Regions from separate parts of the Homo sapiens genome. Here all the other regions are linked to region 3. The links are contacts of gene promoters, found by promoter capture Hi-C in human tissues and cell types (Jung and others, 2019). All regions are on one chromosome and are shown on one strand. The core of a region is centred on a gene start or on the middle of the fragment in contact, and the rest is flanking DNA. Distances in the headings are between cores, read along the strand shown.

The links. Contacts are between HindIII fragments. The study calls those that stand out against the background at their distance.
Region 1: a contact is called between a fragment that was not itself captured here and the fragment with the promoter of APOBEC3H in region 3, in 1 of the 25 tissues and cell types used here (IMR-90 fibroblasts).
Region 2: a fragment that was not itself captured here is called in contact with the fragment with the promoter of APOBEC3H in region 3 in 5 of the 25 tissues and cell types used here (dorsolateral prefrontal cortex, heart left ventricle, heart right ventricle and 2 more).

Annotation. Positions count from the first base shown.
Region 1 is chr22:39,508,289-39,510,988 of GRCh38, forward strand. All of the region lies in intron 2 of MIEF1 (mitochondrial elongation factor 1), which reads left to right. Among named protein-coding and RNA genes, the nearest start is that of MIURF, 5.4 kb to the left of the region's middle. RefSeq lists an enhancer at 2,288-2,700. The HindIII fragment of the contact is 6,788 bases long and covers 1-2,700 here.
Region 2 is chr22:39,352,914-39,355,613 of GRCh38, forward strand. All of the region lies in intron 1 of SYNGR1 (synaptogyrin 1), which reads left to right. Among named protein-coding and RNA genes, the nearest start is that of SYNGR1, 4.3 kb to the left of the region's middle. The HindIII fragment of the contact is 5,350 bases long and covers 1-2,700 here.
Region 3 is chr22:39,095,899-39,098,598 of GRCh38, forward strand. It overlaps APOBEC3H (apolipoprotein B mRNA editing enzyme catalytic subunit 3H), which reads left to right and starts at 1,346. Exons shown (of 5, transcript NM_181773.5): 1 at 1,346-1,445. RefSeq lists enhancers at 468-1,667, 990-1,877, 1,208-1,547, 1,878-2,700. The HindIII fragment of the contact is 18,686 bases long and covers 1-2,700 here.

The DNA of each region.
Region 1 (2,700 bases), core at 108-2,607, 410 kb after region 3:
GCTCTGTTCTGTCATCTGTAGCACCACCTTGCTCTCACCAGTCATCAGAAGGGCACCAAGGACTAAAATGGTCCAGGGAGGCTGCTTCTGCCCTGAGTGAGGAGGTGCCCTTCTGGCCCTGCTGCATCACACTCAAGGATCATTTAGAGGGCACATGTGTCCAGTGGCTCTCCCTATTGTAAATATTTCAGTAAAGAGTTAAAACAAGAGACATTGTTATGTGTGGGGAAATGTATAGTGTTCTGCTTTTCTCCTGATTGGGTTATCTTGCCTCTGCTAAGTTTGGTTTGTCCCGTCTCTATCTCAGTGGCCACTGGAGAGAGGGTGTCTGCTGTTCTTCCCTGATTCCACCTGTAAATACAAACGTTATCTCTTCTCCCTGGCTTTGCTCTGTGCATTTGAGGTGGGAATGTACTCGGTTTGGCGAAATAGTCTTTCATGTCCCTAAACCTGAAGCCTCTATTGACTGTAAATGGTAGAGAAAAGGAAAGTACCCCCAAGGTGTGAACTCTAGTTAGGGAAAAAAATATTTTTGGGCTTGACAGTGACTCTTAGTTAACTCAATTACTGGAATAATAGAGTCAGAAATATTTCTTTGTTTTTCAGGGAGGTAGAGGCAGGAGCGTAAGATGTGGAAGCTAGAAATATCCACTTGTAACACGGTATTAGAAGGAATGTTATTTTACATGGAAGATAATCCTCAGTGATCCTTTTTTTTTTTTCTTCAAGACGGAGTCTTGCTCTGTCACCCAGGCTGGAGTGCAATGGTGATTCTCCTGCCTTGGCCTCCCGAGTAGCTGGGATTACAGGCATGCACCATCATGCCTGGCTAATTTTTTGTATTTTTAGTAGAGATGGGGTTTCACTATGTTGGCCAGGCTGGTCTTGAACTTCCGACCTCGTGATCCACCCACCTTGGCCTCCCAAAGTGCTGGGATTACAGGTGTGAGCCACCGCGCCCGGCTGATCCTGTCTCTTGATGTCCTCCCATTCTGGGACGCTAAATGGTATCCGACTTTGTTTTCCCTTATGTCATTCCTGGTGTGAAGGACACGGGATATTATAGAGGAGAGTGGCAGCATGCTGAGTGGTATTCCGATCTGAATCACACTGTCATCCTTTATCCGGCTCAGGCCCAGGGTTCTAACTCCACAGGAATGGGCTTATCTGGGGACTGCTGCTGCTGCAGTCAGGAAGACTCCACTGTAGTCGGGAGCAGCACTGGCCTGAGCACTGCACTGGAGGCCAGCCTCTTCGCTGTGGTGCCCAAGTACTTCTTTCAGGTGAACACATTTTTAGTTCCTCTTCCAGGTGTAATCGAGCAGATGGGTGTTTTGTTTTCCAGTTAGCAGTCGAGTCTGCAGTGTCCTTTGTGTTTTTTATCTCCCGGTATACCAGTCTCACCTAAGCTTTTATAGTCCCCGCTGCGCACTTCTCTCAAGAAACAAAGCATTTGTCAAGTAGGAGGGTCCATGGAGGGACCTTTCTCACATATGGACGTGTAGTTTCAGTTCCGTGTGCAGGATGTTTGGTACATGTTGTTTTGTGTTTTGTTTGCAGAAAGTAGATAGAATAAGGGCCGATTTGATTTGGGTAAGGGTGAGCATGGTACAGTAGAAAAAGCGTCATACAAGGAGTGGGGAGTCCTGAGTTCTGGAGATGACTGTGTCGTTTTGTTTTCGTTTTTGAGACGGAGTTTAGCTCTTGTTACCCAGGCTAGAGTGCAATCGTGTGATCTCGGCTCACTGCAACCTCCGCCTTCCGGGTTCAAGGGATTCTCCTGTCTCAGCCTCCTGAGAAGCTGGGATTACAGGCATGCGCTGTCACATCTGGCTAATTTTATATTTTTAGTAGTGACGGGGTTTCTCCATGTTGGCCAGGCTTGTCTTGAACTCCTGATCTCAGGTGATCCGCCTGCCTCGGCCTCCCAAAGTGCTGGGATTACAGGCGTGAGTCACCGTGCCCGGCCCATTTTGTTTTTTTATTTTTATTTTTAAGAGATGGGGTCTCACTCTGTCACTGAGGCTAGAGTGCAGTGGCGTGATCATAGCTCACTGTAGCCTCAAACTCCTGGGCTCAAGCATTCCTCCTGCCTCAGCCTCCTAAGTAGATAGGACTACAGGCATGTGCCACCATGCTCAATTTATTTTTATCTTTTACTTTTGGAGATGGGGGTCTTGCCATGTTGCTCAGGTTGGTCTTGAACTTCTGGCCACAAGCGATCTTCCCACCTCAGCCTCCCGGGTAGCTAGGATTATAGGCATGAGCCACTGCGCCTGTACCATTTCTTTTCTCTGAGACCTGACACATCACCTCCCTATGTTGAGAACCTCTGTGTGAGGTGATGTGATGGCATTAGATGAGCTCCAAGGTCCCGCTCAGATCTAACCTTCCACAAAGTAGTGGCCAAAGGACGAAGAAATGACCTGCATTATAACCCCTGTGATGGGGTAGAGAGACCTGCTTTATAACCTCTGTGAAGGGGTAGAGAGACCTGCATTATAACCCCTGTGAAGGGGTAGAGACCTGCATTATAACCCCTGTGAAGGGGTAGAGACCTGCTTTATAACCCCTGTGAAGGGGTAGAGACCTGCATTATAACCCCTGTGAAGGGGTAGAGACCTGCATTATAACATTGTGAAGGGGTAGAGACCTGCATTTTAACATTGTAAAGGGGCAGAGAGAGGGCTGTTTTGCATG
Region 2 (2,700 bases), core at 6-2,505, 260 kb after region 3:
TACAATGGTGCCATCTCGGCTCATTGCAACCTCCGCCTCCCAGGTTCAAGCAACTCTACTGCCTCGGCCTCCCAAGTAGCTGGGACTACAGGCACACACCACCACGCCCAGCTAATTTTTGTATTTTTAGTAGAGATGGGGTTTCACCATGTTAGCCAGGCTGGTCTCGAACTCCTGACCTCAGGTGATCCACCTGCCTTGGCCTCCCAACGTGCTGGGATTACAGGCGTGAGCCACCGCACCCGGCCTGGACCTGGGATTTTTGTAAAATTTGTAAAAGAAAGATTTTTTTTTCTGTTGCTTTTCCAAAAGAGGGCCCCCAAATCATGTAAGCTTCAGGGCCTCACCAACCTGGACCCACCCTGGAACCCAAGCCCTCTGAGCCCCTGGGTCAGCCTGCACAGAAGCAGGGCCTCCAAGACCTGGCTTGTCTCTTTTTTATTTTTTTAGAGACAGGATCTTGCTGTGTTGCCCAGGCTGGTCTCAGACTCCTGGACTCAAGTGATCCTCCCACCTCAGCCTTGTGAGCAGCTGGGACGATGAGGCGAGGCGTGGGCCACTGCATCCGGCATGGCTTGTCTCTTGACTAAGGCTTTCTCACCTCTTGGTGTCATCGCCCCAGTGGCAGATCAGCTGCCACTCCTGGCACCCCCAGGCCACAGCTGTGACCTTCAGTAAGTGTCCCCTCCCCACCCTCTGTGCCTCAGTCTTCCCACCCGAACTGGGCTGGGCTGGGTCAGAAGTGCCTGATCTGTTGCGCGGTGACTGCCGCCTGTCAGTGACTCATTTCTTTGTTCTAAAGCCAGATGGGAAAAAAAGGAGTTACAGCAAGAAGCTAAACTGATTTAATAGAAAGGACCACCTTTTATTTGGAGTTTATATTCTTTTTTGCAGGGGGCTAAGATGGACTATAGGGAATGAATATCAGTGCTGGCAGATGAGTTTTTTGTTTGTTTGTTTTTTGTTTTTGAGATGGAGTCTCGCTCTGTCTCCAGGCTAGAGTGCAGTGGCGCGATCTTGGCTCACTGCAACCTCTGCCTCCTGGTTTCAAGTGATTCTCCTGCCTCAGCCTCCCAAATAGCTGGGATTACAGGCACCCACCACCATGCCCAGCTACTTTTTAAATTTTTAGTAGAGACGGGGTTTCACCATCTTGGCCAGGCTGGTCTCAAACTCCTGACCTAGTGATCCACCCGCCTCAGCCTCCCAAAGTGCTGGGATTACAGGTGTGAGCCACCGTGCCCAGTCAATGTTTCTTTAATTCTCTACTTTGACAAAATGAAAATGATAAAATGTTTGAAATGTTGCCATTTTCAGGGTTCATTTTTTAAGGGCTTTGGCCATAATACCACATGGTTCTGTAAGTGGGGTGGGTATCTTCCCCCCGTTTTACAAATGACAGAATTAAGGCTCAGCCTGGAGAAGTGACTTGTGCTAGCTCAAGGCCTGGGCTTGTCAGAGACTTGGTTTGAACCCGGACTGCTGGGCTCCACATTCTGTGTACTCCCTGTGGGTTCTCTGCCTGGATATCCATGGCACCAAGGGGTGGCCTGAGGGGGGCAGCTTCATACCCCTGGTTTTATTCACCCCCTCCACTCCACCCCCCATCATCCCAAGTGAACACTGAATAAAAAAGCTGAACTTGGCCAGGTGAGGTGGCTCACGCCTATAATCCCAGCACTTTGGGAGGCCAAGGCGGGTGGATCACTTGAGGTCAGGAGTTCGAGACCATCCTGGCCAACATGGTGAAACCCCATCTCTACTAAAATACAAAAATTAGCTGAGCGTGGTGGCGGTCGCCTGTTATCCCAGCTACTCAGGAGGCTGAGGCAGGAGAATCGCTTGAACCCGGGAGGCGGAGGTTGCAGTTAGCTGAGATCACACCACTGCACTCCAGCCTGGGCAACAAAAGCAAAACTCTGTCTCAAATAAAAAAAAAAAAAAGCTGAACGTTTTTTGTAAACACAGCAGTTTCAAGATAAGACCCCTTGCCTCCCCCAACCAACTTGCCATGTGCCAGCCATGGGGCCACAGGAAAATTCTGGGACCAGCGGTTGTTGGGGAAGAGGGTCCAGGGTAGAGACAGAACCTCTGGCCAGTTCTGATGTTCATTTGTTCATTCCACAAGTCCCCTGCTCAGTGCCAGCTGAGTGCTCAGTGCCACCCCAAGGCACTCTCGCTCCAATAACGAGAACAGGATTGAGTGGGAAGCACTGTCCCAGAGGCTCGGGTCACTACAAGAAGGAATTCCCAAGGGGTGGCCCAGGAGAGGCTTGGATGACAGACTCACAAGCTGGACTTCCTCTGAGGGCAGTGGGAAGCTGGAGAGAGGGTCAAGGGTATTTCGGAAGCTCCTGTGGAAGCTTGGTTTGGAGAGGGCTCTGTGGCTGGAAATGCGTGGTCACGTCCAGCCTGTCCTCTCCCAGTACCGGGCACAGCCCTGTCACCTAGACAGGAAGGTGGGCCCACGGCCCTTGTTTGTTATTTATTGCTGACCACCCTGGAGTCTTTCTCACCTCTTCACCTCCTGTGGCCGGCCGCTCCGCCGCTTCTTCTCTCTCAGGTCTAGGACAGGGTCAGCTGCAAGGAGACCGCTGGGAGGTGATAGATTTCTGCTGTGTTTTGGGCACTTCCTCATGTCCAGGGACAGCCCAGGGGCGGCCTCAAGAGCCTGAGAAAGCCTAGGGCATCAGGAGCAGG
Region 3 (2,700 bases), core at 96-2,595:
GTGAGCCACAGCACCTGGCCTGGCTCTTTGGTGTTTATGATCTGAAGGGTGTTGGTTGATATGCATGAAGACGAGGACATGGGTTCCAGAATGCAAATGTGAAGTCCAGGTCCTTCATCTCTGACCTGGGAGGCCCTTTAGGAGCAGTAAGTCCCCTCCCTCGTGTCTCCTCTCCTGCTCCTTTCCATGGAGCAATGAAGAACCTCAAAGTAGCTAGCTGTGGGGGAGAAGGGACACAGGAAGTCCTGGCCAGCACTCCAGCTCTGCTGTTGATTTGCTGTGTGACGTGGGGACAGTATCTTAGCCTCTCTGTGCTTGGGACCTCCTCTGACTGTCAGGATCACTGCCCTCCCCTCCCAGTGCTATCTGGGGACTGGGCTAGATAATGGGCACTGGATCCGCTGGAGATGCAGTCCTGAGCCTGACCCCAGTGCTCATTTCACATCAGGCTCAGGGTCCTGCCAGGAGGCTGAATGCCAAAGGTCAGTGGGGTGGTGGGGAGGGGGCTGCAGCCTGCCCTGTCCACCAGGGGAGTGGCATCTGGTCTATGGTGTCAGCCCTGGTCTGGATCCCTGCTCCTTTCTGTGGCTTCTATTCCTTTCATTTATTTTAGTTTAGTTTAGTTTTTGAGACGGAGTTTTGTTCTTATTGCCCAGGCTGGAGTGCGGTTGGCCAGGTTGATTTTGAACTCCTGACTTCAGGCAATCCACCTGCCTCAGCCTCCCAAAGTGCTGGGATAACAGGCACCGTGACCAGCCATCAATTCCTTTCTTTTTTCTTTCTTTTTTATTTTTATTTATTTATTTATTTTTTGAGACAGGGTCTCGTTCTGTTGCCAGGGTGGAGTGCAGTGGTGCGACGTCGGCTCACTGCAACCTCTGCCTCCAAGGTTCAAGCAATTTCCCTGCCTCAGCCTCCCAAGCAGCTGGAACTACAGGCGCAGGCCACCAAACCTGGCTAATTTTTTGTATTTTAGCAGAGACGGGGTTTCACCATGTTGGCCAGGATGGTCTTCATCTCCTTACCTTGTAATTTGCCCACCTCAGCCTCCCAAAGTGTTCGGATTACAGGTGTGAGCCACCGCATCTGGCCTTTGTTCTTTTGTAAACTATACCTGGGGAGGGAGTTGAGTCTGGCTGTACCTGGAGAGGGAATTGGGGGTGGGAGGATGGGAGGTGAGCCACCTCCATCAGACTTCCCCTGCCAAGCCCGAGGAAATAGAGAAAGAAAGGAGCCTGAGGGATCTGAAGCACCCCAGGGCCCTCCCACTCCAGTCCCACAAAAGGAAGAGGGTGGAGCCACCCTCATCAAGCAGTGACTTTTTGTGACTTTTGGGAGAGCTGACCTTTTGTGACTTTTGGGAGAGCTGCCAAAAGTGAAACTTAGTGCCTCAGACAAGCAGGGGCAAGTCTGCTAAGGAAGCTGTGGCCAGAAGCACAGATCAGGTACTGCCGCCCACTCTGTCCACTGGGCCCTCTGCTGCCACTTCCTGCCTGGCAGCCCTTCTGTGCCTCAGCCCTGGCCTCCCGCTGCCCCAGCCCCAGCCCTGGGCTCCTTCTCCTCTGGCTCCCCTGCCATCCCCACTCCCACCCAGGCTCTTTGCCCTGCTGTGTGGTCACCCCACTGCTGCTTCTGAACGGGCCGCCTCCCCGGCCTGCACCAGCCCAAGACCCCTGCTGAGACTCTCCCCTAAGAGTCATGGCTGGGCTAGTGCTCCCCACCTTGGGAGGGTGCTCTCTCTGTGTGCTTCCTGCCATTCCTGGGCTCTGGAACTGGGAGAACTGAACTAAAGGATGATGGGAGCAATCTGGAATTTTGTTCACAGTGCTTTGATGAACTTTGTGTAAGATTACTTTGTTTCAATACAAAGTCTTAGGAGAGGGTGTGGGGAGGCAATGATCTCTGAAGCACAAGGCAAATCATCTCTTCCAAGGATGTCTCCACTGTGGGCAGAGGAGGATGCAGATGACCCTGAACACACACTCCTCCTCCATGATCAGTATTCACATTCACCGTTTATAATGACACCAGTAACACGGAATATACGGAAAAACTCAATGATCAGGAGAAATGCTTTTATTTTAAAATTTAGGAAGAAGAGAGCCTGGTTCCCAAAGGCTCCCTCCTGCAGGGCCCGTGATGCAGAGGCTGGCAGGGCTGGCCAGGAAAGTGGCCCAGCTCCATGGCCTGGGCAGGTTACCCCACCTCTCTGCACCTCTGGCCCCTCCTCTGTAAGATGAGAATGGCCCCTGCAGGCCTAGGGCAGCCTCACGTGAGCTCAGATCCTCTCAGCACTTAGAAGAGTGGCCTGGGCCTGGGGATGGAAGTGCTACCCTGATTTTTTGTTTCGTTTTGTTTTTTTGAGAAGGGGTGTCTCAGTCTGTTGCCCAGGCTGGAGCGCAATCTCGGCTCACTACAAGCTCCACCTCCTGGGTTCACGCCATTTTCCTGCCTGGCCAGGCAAAATGGCTCATGCCTGTAATCCCAACACTTTGGGAAGCTGAGAGGGGAGGATCATCACTAAAGGCCAGGAGTTCCAAACCAGCCTGGGCAACACAGGGAGACCCCCTTATCTACTAAAACTAAAAAAATAAAATAAAATAACATGAATAGGTAAAATGCCAGGAATTAATTGAACTGAAATATTAAGAGCTCTTATTTTGAAGGGGAGAATTTTATTCACTTTTCTTATTTTTAATG